4 separate regions of the Homo sapiens genome follow, and all the other regions are linked to region 1. The links are contacts of gene promoters, found by promoter capture Hi-C in human tissues and cell types (Jung and others, 2019). All regions are on one chromosome and are shown on one strand. The core of a region is centred on a gene start or on the middle of the fragment in contact, and the rest is flanking DNA. Distances in the headings are between cores, read along the strand shown.

The links. The method cuts DNA at HindIII sites, captures the fragments that hold promoters and counts their contacts. A contact is called where the count stands out against the background at its distance.
Region 2: the fragment with the promoter of CHERP here is called in contact with the fragment with the promoter of BABAM1 in region 1 in 1 of the 25 tissues and cell types used here (dorsolateral prefrontal cortex).
Region 3: a contact is called between the fragment with the promoter of MED26 here and the fragment with the promoter of BABAM1 in region 1, in 2 of the 25 tissues and cell types used here (dorsolateral prefrontal cortex and lymphoblastoid cells).
Region 4: the fragment with the promoter of NWD1 here is called in contact with the fragment with the promoter of BABAM1 in region 1 in 1 of the 25 tissues and cell types used here (spleen).

What each region holds. Positions count from the first base shown.
Region 1 is chr19:17,265,800-17,268,692 of GRCh38, reverse strand. BABAM1 (BRISC and BRCA1 A complex member 1) reads right to left here and starts at 1,250. Exons shown (of 9, transcript NM_014173.4): 1 at 1,166-1,250. RefSeq lists enhancers at 762-1,473, 981-1,480, 1,741-2,200. The HindIII fragment of the contact is 20,462 bases long and covers 1-2,893 here.
Region 2 is chr19:16,540,973-16,543,865 of GRCh38, reverse strand. CHERP (calcium homeostasis endoplasmic reticulum protein) reads left to right here and starts at 1,429. Exons shown (of 17, transcript NM_006387.6): 1 at 1,429-1,512; 2 at 1,823-1,996. The coding sequence starts at 1,488. RefSeq lists silencers at 1,528-1,717, 1,728-1,797. The HindIII fragment of the contact is 9,580 bases long and covers 1-2,893 here.
Region 3 is chr19:16,626,690-16,629,582 of GRCh38, reverse strand. MED26 (mediator complex subunit 26) reads left to right here and starts at 1,379. Exons shown (of 3, transcript NM_004831.5): 1 at 1,379-1,711. The coding sequence starts at 1,640. LOC105372296 (a long non-coding RNA gene) reads right to left here and starts at 1,151. Exons shown (of 2, transcript XR_936361.3): 1 at 335-1,151; 2 at 1-224. RefSeq lists enhancers at 166-215, 320-1,251 and silencers at 766-845, 1,096-1,355, 1,456-1,515. The HindIII fragment of the contact is 10,464 bases long and covers 1-2,893 here.
Region 4 is chr19:16,718,316-16,721,208 of GRCh38, reverse strand. It overlaps NWD1 (NACHT and WD repeat domain containing 1), which reads right to left and starts at 1,362. Exons shown (of 19, transcript NM_001007525.5): 1 at 916-1,362. The HindIII fragment of the contact is 25,691 bases long and covers 1-2,893 here.

The DNA.
Region 1 (2,893 bases), core at 1-2,500:
CTTTGGGAGGCCGAGGCAGGTGGATCACCTGAGGTTGGAAGTTCGAGACCAGCCTGACCAACATGGAGAAACCCCGTCTCAACTAAAAATACAAAATTAGCCGGGCGTGGTGGCGCATGCGGATAATCCCAGCTACTCGGGAGGCTGAGGCAGGAGAATCGCTTGAACCCGGGAGGGGAGGCTGCGGTGAGCCGAGATCCCGCCACTGCACTCCATCCTGGGCAAAAAGAGCGAAACTCCGTCTCAAAAAAAAAAAAAAAAAAAAGATTGGTTACTAAGAAGGAAGAGGGGCGATGAGCCGCTTACTGATGATGAGTCACTCCTCTTAGGGAGTCACTTTCCTCAGCTGCAGAATGGCTGCCTTTTACACCTCTCAGCCGAGCAGCCACTCCGACATAAGATAACAGTCCCCCCTCTTTTTTCCTCTTTTTTTTTTTAACGTAGTGCTAGCCCCATGCCCCTACTCGGCCAGTGAGCACATCCCAGCTCTCTGGCCACTGAAAATGGCTCAGGGATGGGCACATGACCCAAATCAGGCCATTGAGTGGCAGCTCTGCAACTTCTAGCAGTGTCATCAAGGAAAAGAGACTCTCATTAGAGTTGCAGAGCTGGTAGAATAAAGTTGAGAGCTGTGAGGGGCCCCTTTTGCCTCGGTAAAAAGCGAAATGGTCTCCACCGAGAAAACTGCAGATCGAATTCTGACCACCTGGACCCAGCTCCTGTTAGACCCAATCTATAAGCCACCAACTTCCTTTTCTTCCTTAAGCCAGATTGAGTAGGGTTTTCTGTTACCTAAAACTGAAAATGTCTTGGTGAATAAGGGAATAATAACCTCTAGGACACCCTCGTCCCTAGCGGGTGTCTGCATGAGGGAGAAGCAAAATATTAGTACTGTGGTTCCCCTTGGAGAGAAACAGGACGCGAATGGAGCAGTTTGTCTATCTGGGAAATAGGCACGGGCTTCCCAAGATGGTCTTTGAGCGCCTTGCAGTCCCCACACCTCTAAGAAAAACAAGGCTTTAGCGGCAGCAAGAAGGATGGAGGCTACACTGCAGGAGAAACCAGAAATAAAGGCGGAAGCCCCAGGAAAGGCGAGGAGCTGGATCTCTTGGGGCAAAGGGAGCTGGGCCCCTAGGAACGGGCCCCACACGCTTTCACCACCCACCTTCGGCTCACCGTAGCCTGAACCTCCTTCTAAATCAGCCGCCGACTCACTAGGAAGCCGCCATCTTTACAGCCGGAAGTTGTACGGCGCAGCCCCGACGCCTCCTGGGAAATGTAGTTCAGCGGGCTGCAGAACAAGCAGAGACAGAAACTGGTTGAGGCTAGAAAGAACTTGGAAACTGATAGGCTGAAACTGGGTTGGGGGTGGGGTTTGGAGTGAGAGCTGCCTGGAGCTGGGTGCGGCGGGACCTGGAATGTGATTGGCTACACTGGAGCAAAGTATGAAATGTGATTGGATTAAAAAAATTAGTGAATTTTTGTTTTTGGCCGAATCAGACTACAATAGTCAGTGCTTCTACCGTGATAGGCTGAAACGTGGAATAGAGGTGGAGCTTGCAATGTGATAGGCTAAGAGGGACGGAGAAGGCCGATTTAGGGAAAGAGGAGGAGCTGATTGGTGATTGGTGGAGCTGGCCTGAGCCTCCATGTGGGGCAGGTATTCCCATGTGGGTGTGGCCTGAGCATCCAGGGCCCTTCCCAATTACTTAATTCTTGTTCCTTATTTTACATATATTTGCATGAATCAAAAAATACTTACTCTGGTCTTATTGGGTCACTGTAGGTGGAGCGAAGCTAAGTCGGGCCTATTTCAAGCCTACCTCTTTTTTCATGGCTTTTTTTTTTCTTATTTTTAGAGACAGGGTATCGCTCTGTCGCCCAAACTAGACTGCAGTCACGCGATCATGGCTAGTCACTACAGCCAAGCGATCGCTCAAGTAGCTGGGACTACAGGCGAGGACCACCGCATCAGACTACCCTAGGCTTCCTTCCTTTTTTTTTTATTTTTATTTTTTAGATGGAGTCTCACTCTGTCGCCCAGGCTGCCGTTGTCTTCTTAGTGCACACTTCCCCCTTAGCCCCAGAAGTATTTATTTATTTATTTTTATTTTTTTGAGACAAGAGTCTTGCTCTGTCGCCCAGGCTGGAGTGCAGTGGCTCAATCTCGGCTCACTGCAACCTCCACCTCCAGGGATCGAGCAATTCTCCTGCCTCAGCCTCCCAAGTAGCTGGGATTACAGGCATGCACCACCAGGCCCGGCTGAGATATATATAGTATTTTTAGTAGAGCTGGGTTTTTGTTGTGTTTTTTTTTTTCGTTTTTGTTTTTGTTTTTTTGAGATGGAGTCTCGCTGTGTCACCTAGAGCGGCTCTTTGAAGGCTCTAAGCCTTTGCCCAGGAAGTTCCTTCTGCCTGGAATGCTGTTCCTCCTGTTGCTTTTCTGGCAAGTTCTTTATGCTTCAAAGCTCACCTTACACAGCCCCTCCGGCTATTCTCGAATTAGAGCCTGGCCAATGTGGCCGGCTTCTTTGACCCTCAAAAAAAAAAAAACAACTGAGGAGTTGGGGGCAGTGGCTCACACCTATAATCCCAGCATTTTGGGAGGCTGAGGTGGGTGGATCACGAGGTCAGGAGTTAGAGATCAGCCTGGCCAATATGGTGAAACCCCGTCTCTACTAAAAATACAAAAAATTAGCTGGGTGTGGTGGCGCGCACCTATAATCACAGCTACTCAGAAGGCTGAGGCAGAAGAATTGCTTGAACCCAGGAGGTGGAGGTTGCAGTGAGCCGAGATCGCACCACTGCACTCCAGCCTGCGTGGCAGAACAAGATTCCATCTAATAAAATAAAATAAATAAATAAACTGAGGCTTCAAGTGGCTCTTAAATGT
Region 2 (2,893 bases), core at 180-2,679, 730 kb after region 1:
AGCCGGGCGTGGTGGTGCGCACCTGTAGTCCCAGCTCCCCTGGAGGCTGAGGCAGGAGAATTGCTTGAGCACGGGAGGCAGAGGTTGCAGTGAACCGAGATCACACCACTGCACTCCAGCTTGGGCGAGAGAGAGCAAGACTGTGTCTCAAAAAAAAAAAAAAACCAAACAATTAAGATCCTCGATCTTCATGAGAAAATATGAACTAGAGGACATTTAGAAAAAAAAAAATCCTTGATCTTGCCTCCTGACCTGCAGAGTCTAAAATATTTGCTTTCTGTCCCTTTTATACAAAAAGTTTTGTTGATTCCTAGCCTACAGCAACACTTGATGTAGAGTTGTCAATCCATAAGCATCTGGTGGAAAAATGCTGTTAACAATAAAAATGAAACTAATCTAAAATACATGTGCATTTATTTGCACAGAAAAAAACAGGCTGGGTAAAGTAGCTCATGCCTATAATCCTAGCACTTTGGGAGGCCGAGGCGGGAGGATTACTTGAGCACAGGAGTTCAGGGCTAGTGAGCTATGATCATGACACTGCACTCCAGCGTGGGCCACAGAGCAAGACCTTGTCTCAAGAAAAAAGAAAAAAAAAAACGGATAAAGGAAAAAAAAGCGGCGGGGGCGGGGGGCAGGTATAGCCAACTAAGCATTAACCATCTCAAGAGGATCAGTTTATATCGGACGTCCACAGCAGAAATTTGCTGCTTCTGGCTATCTTTTCCCCACAATTAGCAAGGGTTAGCTTCATTATTTTAGAGGCAACCCAACTGCAGCTTTTAGAAAGGCGCTGTGCCCTCTAGGCCAGCAATTTGAGGGCATGGGTTGGGGGGTACCCCGCCCCAGTCTTCCTGACCAAAGAGTGGAGCGGAAGAAAGCCAGGAGGAGGATGTTTTGAACCTAAATACGTCCAGCTGCAATCCCAGTCAAGCTCGTCGCCCCCAGTTCTGCTCCACCTCCGGTCTGGCCGGGGAGAATGTGACAGTCGCCGCAGCCCGGGATCCACCCGGACGCACCTCACCTCGCAGTCTCCTCACTGTGCCCGCGAAAGGAAAGAGACCCTGGCCCAGGCACGAAGTCCCCAGGCCCCTGGTCGCCCGGAGGTAGCAACCAGCCAGCCCATCGGGCTGCGACGCCGACCAAGGGGCACGCCCCGCGCCCCCCGGTCTCGACTAACACCCACCCGCGCCGTTCCAGCCTTTCCGCGGCGCCGCGCGACGGGGACCCACTCTGCGAAAGTGTCAGGAAACTTCTGCGCGTGCGCGTCGCTAGCCCCTCCCGCGCGCCAGGCATCGCGCGGCTTCTTCCCGCCTGCCTCCCGCTCTCACTTCCGGAGTTTCCCAGCGACGGCCGTAAGTGGCGGGCGGAAGCGGCCCTAGAAGCCCGCCGTAAACGGCTCCCTCGCGCCACTTCCGGCCGGCTTCCGCAGACGGCGCTGGTGGTCGATCGTGTGGCGCCGGAGGACGTTCCCCGCGGCCGGAGCCATGGAGATGCCGCTGCCCCCCGATGGTGAGACCCAAACCGGCCGAGAGACCGTTTCTCTCTCCCCGGAACCTCCTATTGGCCGGCCCCGCCTCCCGGAGTCCCCGGGTCTGGGAGGGGGCGGGGCTCGGCCTCGCGGCTTCGCCTGCGGCCTCTCCCGTGGGTCCCCGCATTCCCGGCGAGCGTGTGGCCCCTATCGGGACCCGTACAAGGGCGGCCTCTTCGGGGCCCACCCCCTTGGGGTCCCCGGCAAGGCGGACGGGGGCTGGGGCGCCGAGTCCCCCGGCTTTGGGCGGTCCTCGCTGACGCCCCGCGTGGCCTTTTCTCCGTCCTCCAGACCAGGAGCTTCGAAATGTCATCGACAAGCTCGCCCAGTTCGTGGCTCGCAATGGGCCCGAGTTTGAGAAGATGACTATGGAGAAGCAGAAGGACAACCCCAAATTCTCGTTTCTTTTCGGAGGCGAATTCTACAGTTACTACAAGTGCAAGCTGGCGCTGGAGCAGCAGCAGCGTGAGTCCCCTCCGGCACTCAGGCCGTCCCATCGAGCGCTTCCTTTCTCGGATTCCAGTCCGGGCTCTGCCACAAACCTCTTTCTTTCGGGTCGTTTATTCTTTGAAGTGGAGCAGCTCGGTCCACACGATCCCTGTTCCGCTGTTCCCACGGCCCTGCACAGAGCGGCTGCTGGGTGCCACTGTAATGGAGAACAACGAGGTTTTCGATCCTCCCCCCTGGGCTCTGGATCAGGGATTTTGCTGTTGTTTTGCAGACTGATGACGGAGATTAGCAGGAGTAGCGTGATTGTTTTAGTGTTTTCTAGGGAGGAAGTGATAGAGGCCGGATGGGAGTCCATGGGACAGGCACTGTCCAGCCCCCTTTGCCGTCTCCCTGTGGGTCCAGCAAGGTTTTGTGCATTTCAGATGCCTGCAGCAGAAATCAAAAAGAATTATCCCTCTGAGTTTTAGTTATTGGCAAGTGTTTATCAATGTTCGTTCATTTAGGCAACAGGATTCCAGTCCTGCTCTAAAGAAGTTTAAAGTTAGGAAGCAGAGCTGGCCTTTGAATAATGGATAGTCACCAGGTGGTGCGGCTGCTCAGGGCAGGTATCACATCTGTCACGTTCAGTACCCAACCCCGTCTCTAGATTGTTTAAATGAATAACTAGGAGTTTGCCAGGTAGATGGACATTGAGAGGTGGTTGTCCGCTGTTTGATCGAACGCCAATTGTGTGTTATGTATTAAGGTACAATGACCCAAACAAGGTCTGTTTGGCTTCGGCGAGCGTGTAGTTCAGGGGACTACACGCTCGTCTTGTATTAAGGTACAAGGTCATTGTCCCTTAATACATAACACACAGTTGGTGTTCGATTAAACAGCTTGAAAGGAGGCCTGTTGCAGTGGCTCATACTG
Region 3 (2,893 bases), core at 130-2,629, 640 kb after region 1:
GACAAGTGTTTTGCCCGTGTTTCTTTTCTCCTCCAAGTGTGATGTAAAACTTTTCACATGTGCAGAAGCACGCAACCATAGCCACGTGCAGAAGCAGCCGTTTTTGCAAATGAAAATATTTCCCAGAAGCACAACAAATACAAGACTAACAGGTGTCGGGCAGCTCCAAGGCACACATGTGGTTCTCATCAGCTGTCTTCCTCCTGTTTTAAATCTAGGTCTTCCTGTAACAGTGGGAAAAAAAAGATTTCTCCCGAGGCCGCCGAGCTTGCCTTTCCATCCCGTCTCACAAGAGCATTTCCAACAGAGCTCCCAGAGAGAGGGGAGCAATTACCAAGGCAATAAACAGGGTGGAGGGAGGAGGGGCGCCCTTAAACTTGACATCTGCGGTTCTGGGCTTAACCCCGAAGTCTAGGTGACCTTGGGCCTCCGTTTCCTCCTCTGTGACGTGTTTGGTTAAGAGAATGAGCATCTCAGTTTTACAGAATCTCAAGGCAGAGGCGGGTAGAAGGGTCTTTCAATCACGGGGTTCTCTGCCGGTGGGGGGGCGGGGGGACTGTGCCCCCACAAGGGACGGCGGCAATGACTGCAGATTGGGGGAGGGGGCGCTTCGGAGGCCAGAGATGCCGCTCAACTTCCGACAGATCGGGGGACCCGCCCCGAAGACAGAGCGATCCCGCCCAAATGCCAGTGGTGCCGAGGTGGAGAAGCCGCCGCGTAGACGCAGATTTGCAACCTCCGGCTTTCCCAGCTACGGCGGGCGGCTTCTGCCAGAGGCGCTTTGCCGCCTCACGTTTTCGCGATCGGGGTCGCGCGTGGCGGTGCAGACCCCCGCCCTGCCACCACACCCATTCCCACACCCTCTGAGGGGCGGGGGGGCCGCGGCGACACCCCCGGACTCCGATGACCCTTCTGCGCGCAGAATCACAACGTGGACGTCTGGTTCCCTCGCCCTCACAAAAAACTCGGCAGCTGCTCAGCCTGCGACTCCCGTCCCCCAGTCACGCGCCGGGAAGGCTCTCCCAGAGGAAGGATTTTCCCGCCGCCCTCCCCGCCCCGAGGTAGCCGCTGCGAGCGTCCGGGTTCAAGGACTCTTTGCGCGCGCGCTTCCGTCAGAAAGCCCCGCCCCGTGACCTGGACGGGGGCCGTTGCCCCGCCCAACCTCCTCCCAACGGCTGCCTAGGCCGGGCGGCTGGGCGGGGCGTCACGGGCGGACGAGTGCGCCTGCGCGCGCTTGCGCGGAGGCGCGGGGCGTGGCACACGGGCAGCCCCGCCCAGGCCTGGCGTCTCCGCCCGCCCCATCTCCCAACCTCCTCAGCGTGGCGCCGACGCTGCGTGCGGCGCGGACTACCCAGAGTACTCCGCGCGGGGGCAGCTCACTGGAGTTTGGTTCTCGAGGCGGCGGCAGCGAGCGGCGGCGGCTCCGGCGGCTCCTCCTCCTCCTTTGGTGGCGGCGGCGGCCCGGGACCGAGACCCGGCCCCGGCTCCCCTCTCCGCCACCCCGCGCGCCCCCAACCCCCCGGCGCCGCGGGGAACATGCGGCTCCGGCTCCCGGAGGCCGGCGAGTGAGTGACCCCCGTCCCCCGCCTCAGCCCGCCCGCCCGCTGGCCCGGCCGCAACCCCCCGCCTCGCCCAGGCAATGACAGCGGCTCCGGCGTCTCCGCAGCAGATCAGGGACCGGCTGCTGCAGGCCATCGACCCCCAGAGCAACGTAAGTACCCGCCGCGCGAGCTGGGACGGAGGCCGCATGGGCCCGGGACCCTCCCCCTCTCCTGTACCCCTCGCCCACCGGGCTTCGGGGGACCCGTCTGGCGCCCACCTCCCCTCGAGGGCCGCTGCCATCCCTGCCTCTCGCTTCTCGGGCCCGGGCCGGGGGCAGGTCGGGCAGCCCGGCAGCGCTCGGTACGTGAGGCCGAGGCTTCCGTGCGGCCTGGGCGGAGGAAGCAGACGGGGGAGCTGAGGCTAGAGTTTTTCCTCCCTTTCTGCTCCAGCTCTACGACCCTCACTGCTCTGGACGAAGCTTCTCTGCCTCGCCCTCCCTCCGGGACCCGAGACCCCCGGGAAGCCCTCCCGGAGCGGGAAGGGGAGGGAGAAGGGCTGTGAAGCAACTGGTGTCCGGGGTATGACTCGGGGAACCTATGTCTCCCATGTCTTGGCCTCCTGGGTGATCAGGGAAGTCCTTCTTCCCCCTCCTCTCGGCTGGCAGCACCTTCCTGGCTTCGGAGAGAACCCCCAGTCTGTTTTGCCCCTGGCCGGGTACCTAGGGTACGTGGAGAGTCTGTCTCCCTTCTGTGACTAGACACGCCTTTGCCAAAACCCTCTTGGGGTCGCTGCCGACGATAGATGATCTCGGGGAGGGTGGGATCCTTCCTGTTGCCTTTCTGGGCCTCAGTACCCATTGCGTCTCTGACCAAGCCAGAGCTCCATTTTTTAGGTAGTGAATTAAAGAGGACTTTTCTCTCCCGTTTACCCAAGAGCTCTGTTTCAGTAGGCTCTTTCCCTCACCTGGGGGTCTCAGCCTGGTGGTTTTTGACCCAGACTGTCGGGGTTAACTCCAGAGTGTCGCTTCCTCGGGTGCCCCTTTGCTGAGGCTACTGTTTGCGGAGGGACCGCCCCCTCCCCTTCCGTGTGTGTGTGTGTGTTGTTGCGGGGGTGGGGGGGTGGGGGGGAAGACTGATCTATTCTCATATTTTCTCCAAGAGTTTCTTGGCAGTAGGGGTCATTCTTCCCGCGGCAGGAGCAGGGCGGTAGGAAGATGCAGTAGCATCCAGGTATGAGGGGAGGCCCTGCTTCCCAGGAAGTGGCCATTGAGATCACTTTTTAATGTGCTGTGAATGGAAGAAAAATATCATCTTTGGCTTGGCCAGGTAACTCAGGTTTCTCTCACCGTAGG
Region 4 (2,893 bases), core at 113-2,612, 550 kb after region 1:
TTTCAACAGCACACCCCCACCACCACCACCAAAGTCGTCACAATTAAAAAGTATCCCTAGGCTGGGTGCAGTGGCTCACACCTCTAATCCCAGCACTTTGAGAGGCCAAAACAGGCAGATTACTTGAGGCCAGGAGTTCGAGACCAGCCTGGCCAACATGGCGAAACCCCATCTCTACTAAAAATACAAAAATTAGCTGGCGCGGTGGCATGTACCTGTAATCCCAGCTACTCGGAAGCCTGAGGCAGGAGAATCGCTTGAACCCGGGAAGCAGAGGTTGCAGTGAGCCGAGATCGTGCCACTGCGCTCCAGCCTGGGCAACAGAGCAAGGCTCCATCTCAAAAAGAAAAAGTCTCGGCCAGGTGCGGTGGCTCACGCCTGTAATCCCAGCACTTTGGGAAGCCGAGGAGGGCAGATCATGAGGTCAGGAGATCGAGACCATCCTGGCTAACACGGTGAAACCCCGTCTCTACTAAAAATACAAAAAATTAGCCGGGCATGTGGCGGACACCTGTAGTCCCAGCTACTCAGGAGGCTGAGGCAGGAGAATGGTGTGAACCTGGGAGGCAGAGCTTGCAGTAACTGAGATCACGCCACTGCACTCCAGCCTAGTGACAGAGCGAGACTCCGTCTCAAAAAAAAAAAAGTCTCCCTAGACATTGCAATGTCCCCTAGGGGGCAGAATTCCCCTTACTCGAGAACCCCCTAGTCTAATGCATTTAGCTTATTTCAACCTCAGGGCCTTTGCACGTCCTGTACTTTAGTGCTCTATGCTGCATCTGTTCATGTTGTTCACATTTTAGCTTCAATGCTACCTCCTCCTGAGAGGCTGTCTCTGACCATCCCATTGCGTAGTGACCCCTTAAGTCACTCCCAATGCCATCGCCTTATTTTAATTTTCTGCATGGTACTCACCAACAGCTGATATGTTTCTACATGTTATTGTTTGTCTGTCCCACGAGAAAGTGAATTCCATGAGCCCAAGGATCTTGTCTGGTAAGGCTGGCGTGCCTGGCACATAGTAGGTGCTCAGTAAATTATCATCACAACAGCTTCCTCCACAACTGTTTCTCTTTCTGGACTTCTGTTTGTTGCTGAAGAAGACAGCTGAGCAGGACTGGGCTTCCCCAGTAAGGACAGAGGCCCTTTGCAGTGTCAGCGTTCTGGCTGTCCTGGGGGCTCCAGCCTCTCTTTAGCCTTTGCTGGTAGTTGAACGACCAATTTAGACTCCTCTGGGGAAATAGGTTAGAGAGGACAGTTTCCTGGCCTCGGCGCCACCCGGAAGACAAGCCCCTGGCTATCCTAGTAACTTTCGTCTTAGGTATTTTATGGGTCTCTCCTTGCCCAATTCTCCCAGCAACTGGGATAATGAAAGCGATTGTTTGCACTAGGGCACCAGCTTAGCCGGGCATTCAGCCCAGACTTAGTGGTTAACTATTGTGTGCCAGGCTGATACGGCTCCTCGTAAAAGATGCCATTTGCTGACAGTCTAGGAGGTGCAGTTGGTTGGCATTTGGCATTAGCAGTCCACATTATTACCCCAAGAGACAGACATTATGATCCTGTTTCACAGATGAAGAAAACAAGATGCAGAAAGGTGAAGTCCCTTGCCTGTGACGCTTCACTACTCTGCACTTGAATTTTCTCACTAACTTCCTGTGTTGGTGAGACAATGAAAAGCATTTATATAGAGAGTGAGACTAACACTACACCTACATCACAGGAAGGGCCCGTGAGATGTTAGCCATGATTAATTACCATTAAAACTCCAAGACCGGGCACGGTGGCTCATGCCTGTAATCCCAGCACTTTGGGAGGCCGAGGCAGGCGGATCACCTGAGGTCAGGCATTCAAGACCAGACTGGCCAATATGGTGAGACCCCTATCTCTACTAAAAATAGAAAAATTAGCTGGGCGTGGTGACGCATGCCTGTAATCCCAGCTACTTGGGAGGCTGAGGCACAAGAATTGTTTGAACCTGGGAGTTGGAGGTTGCAATGAGCCGAGATCCTGCCACTGCACTGCAGCCTGGGCGACAGAGCAAGACTTTGTCTCAAAAACTCACAAATCACCCGGGCATGGTGGCTCACGCTAGTAATCCCAGCACTTTGGGAGGCCAAGGCAGGCAGATCACGAGGTCAGGAGATCAAGACCATCCTGGCTAACACGGTGAAACCCCGTCTCTACAAAAAAAACAAAACAAAACAAAACAAAAAATTAGCTGGGCGTGGTGGTTTGCACCTGTAGTCCCAGCTACTCAGGAAGCTGAGGCAGGAGAATGGCATGAACCCGGGAGGTGGAGCTTGCAGTGAGCCGAGATCGCACCACTGCACTCCAGCCTGGGTGACAGAGCGAGACTTTGTCTCAAAAACTCACAAGTCACCCAGGCATGGTGGCTCACGCCAGTAATCCCAGCACTTTGGGAGGCCAAGGCAGGCAGATCACGAGGTCAGGAGATCAAGACCATCCTGGCTAACATGGTGAAACCCTGTCTCTACATAAAAAACAAAAAACAAAAAACAAAAAATTAGCTGGGCGTGGTGGTTTGCACCTGTAGTCCCAGCTACTCAGGAAGCTGAGGCAGGAGAATGGCATGAACCTGGGAGGTGGAGCTTGCAGTGAGCCGAGATTGCGCCACTGCACTCCAGCCTGGGCGACAGAGCAAGCCTCCATCTCAAAGAAAAAGTAATAATAATAGTGTTACTATATTTTCAGGGATAGAAGTTTCAGATACTTGGTCAGGCGCGGTGGCTCATGCCTGTAATCCCAGCACTTTGGGAGGCCGAGGTGGGCAAATCACCTGAGGTCAGGAATTTGAGACCAGCTTGGCCAATATGGTGAGACCCCATCTCTACTAAAAACAAAAATTAGCCAGGCATGGTGGCAGGTGCCT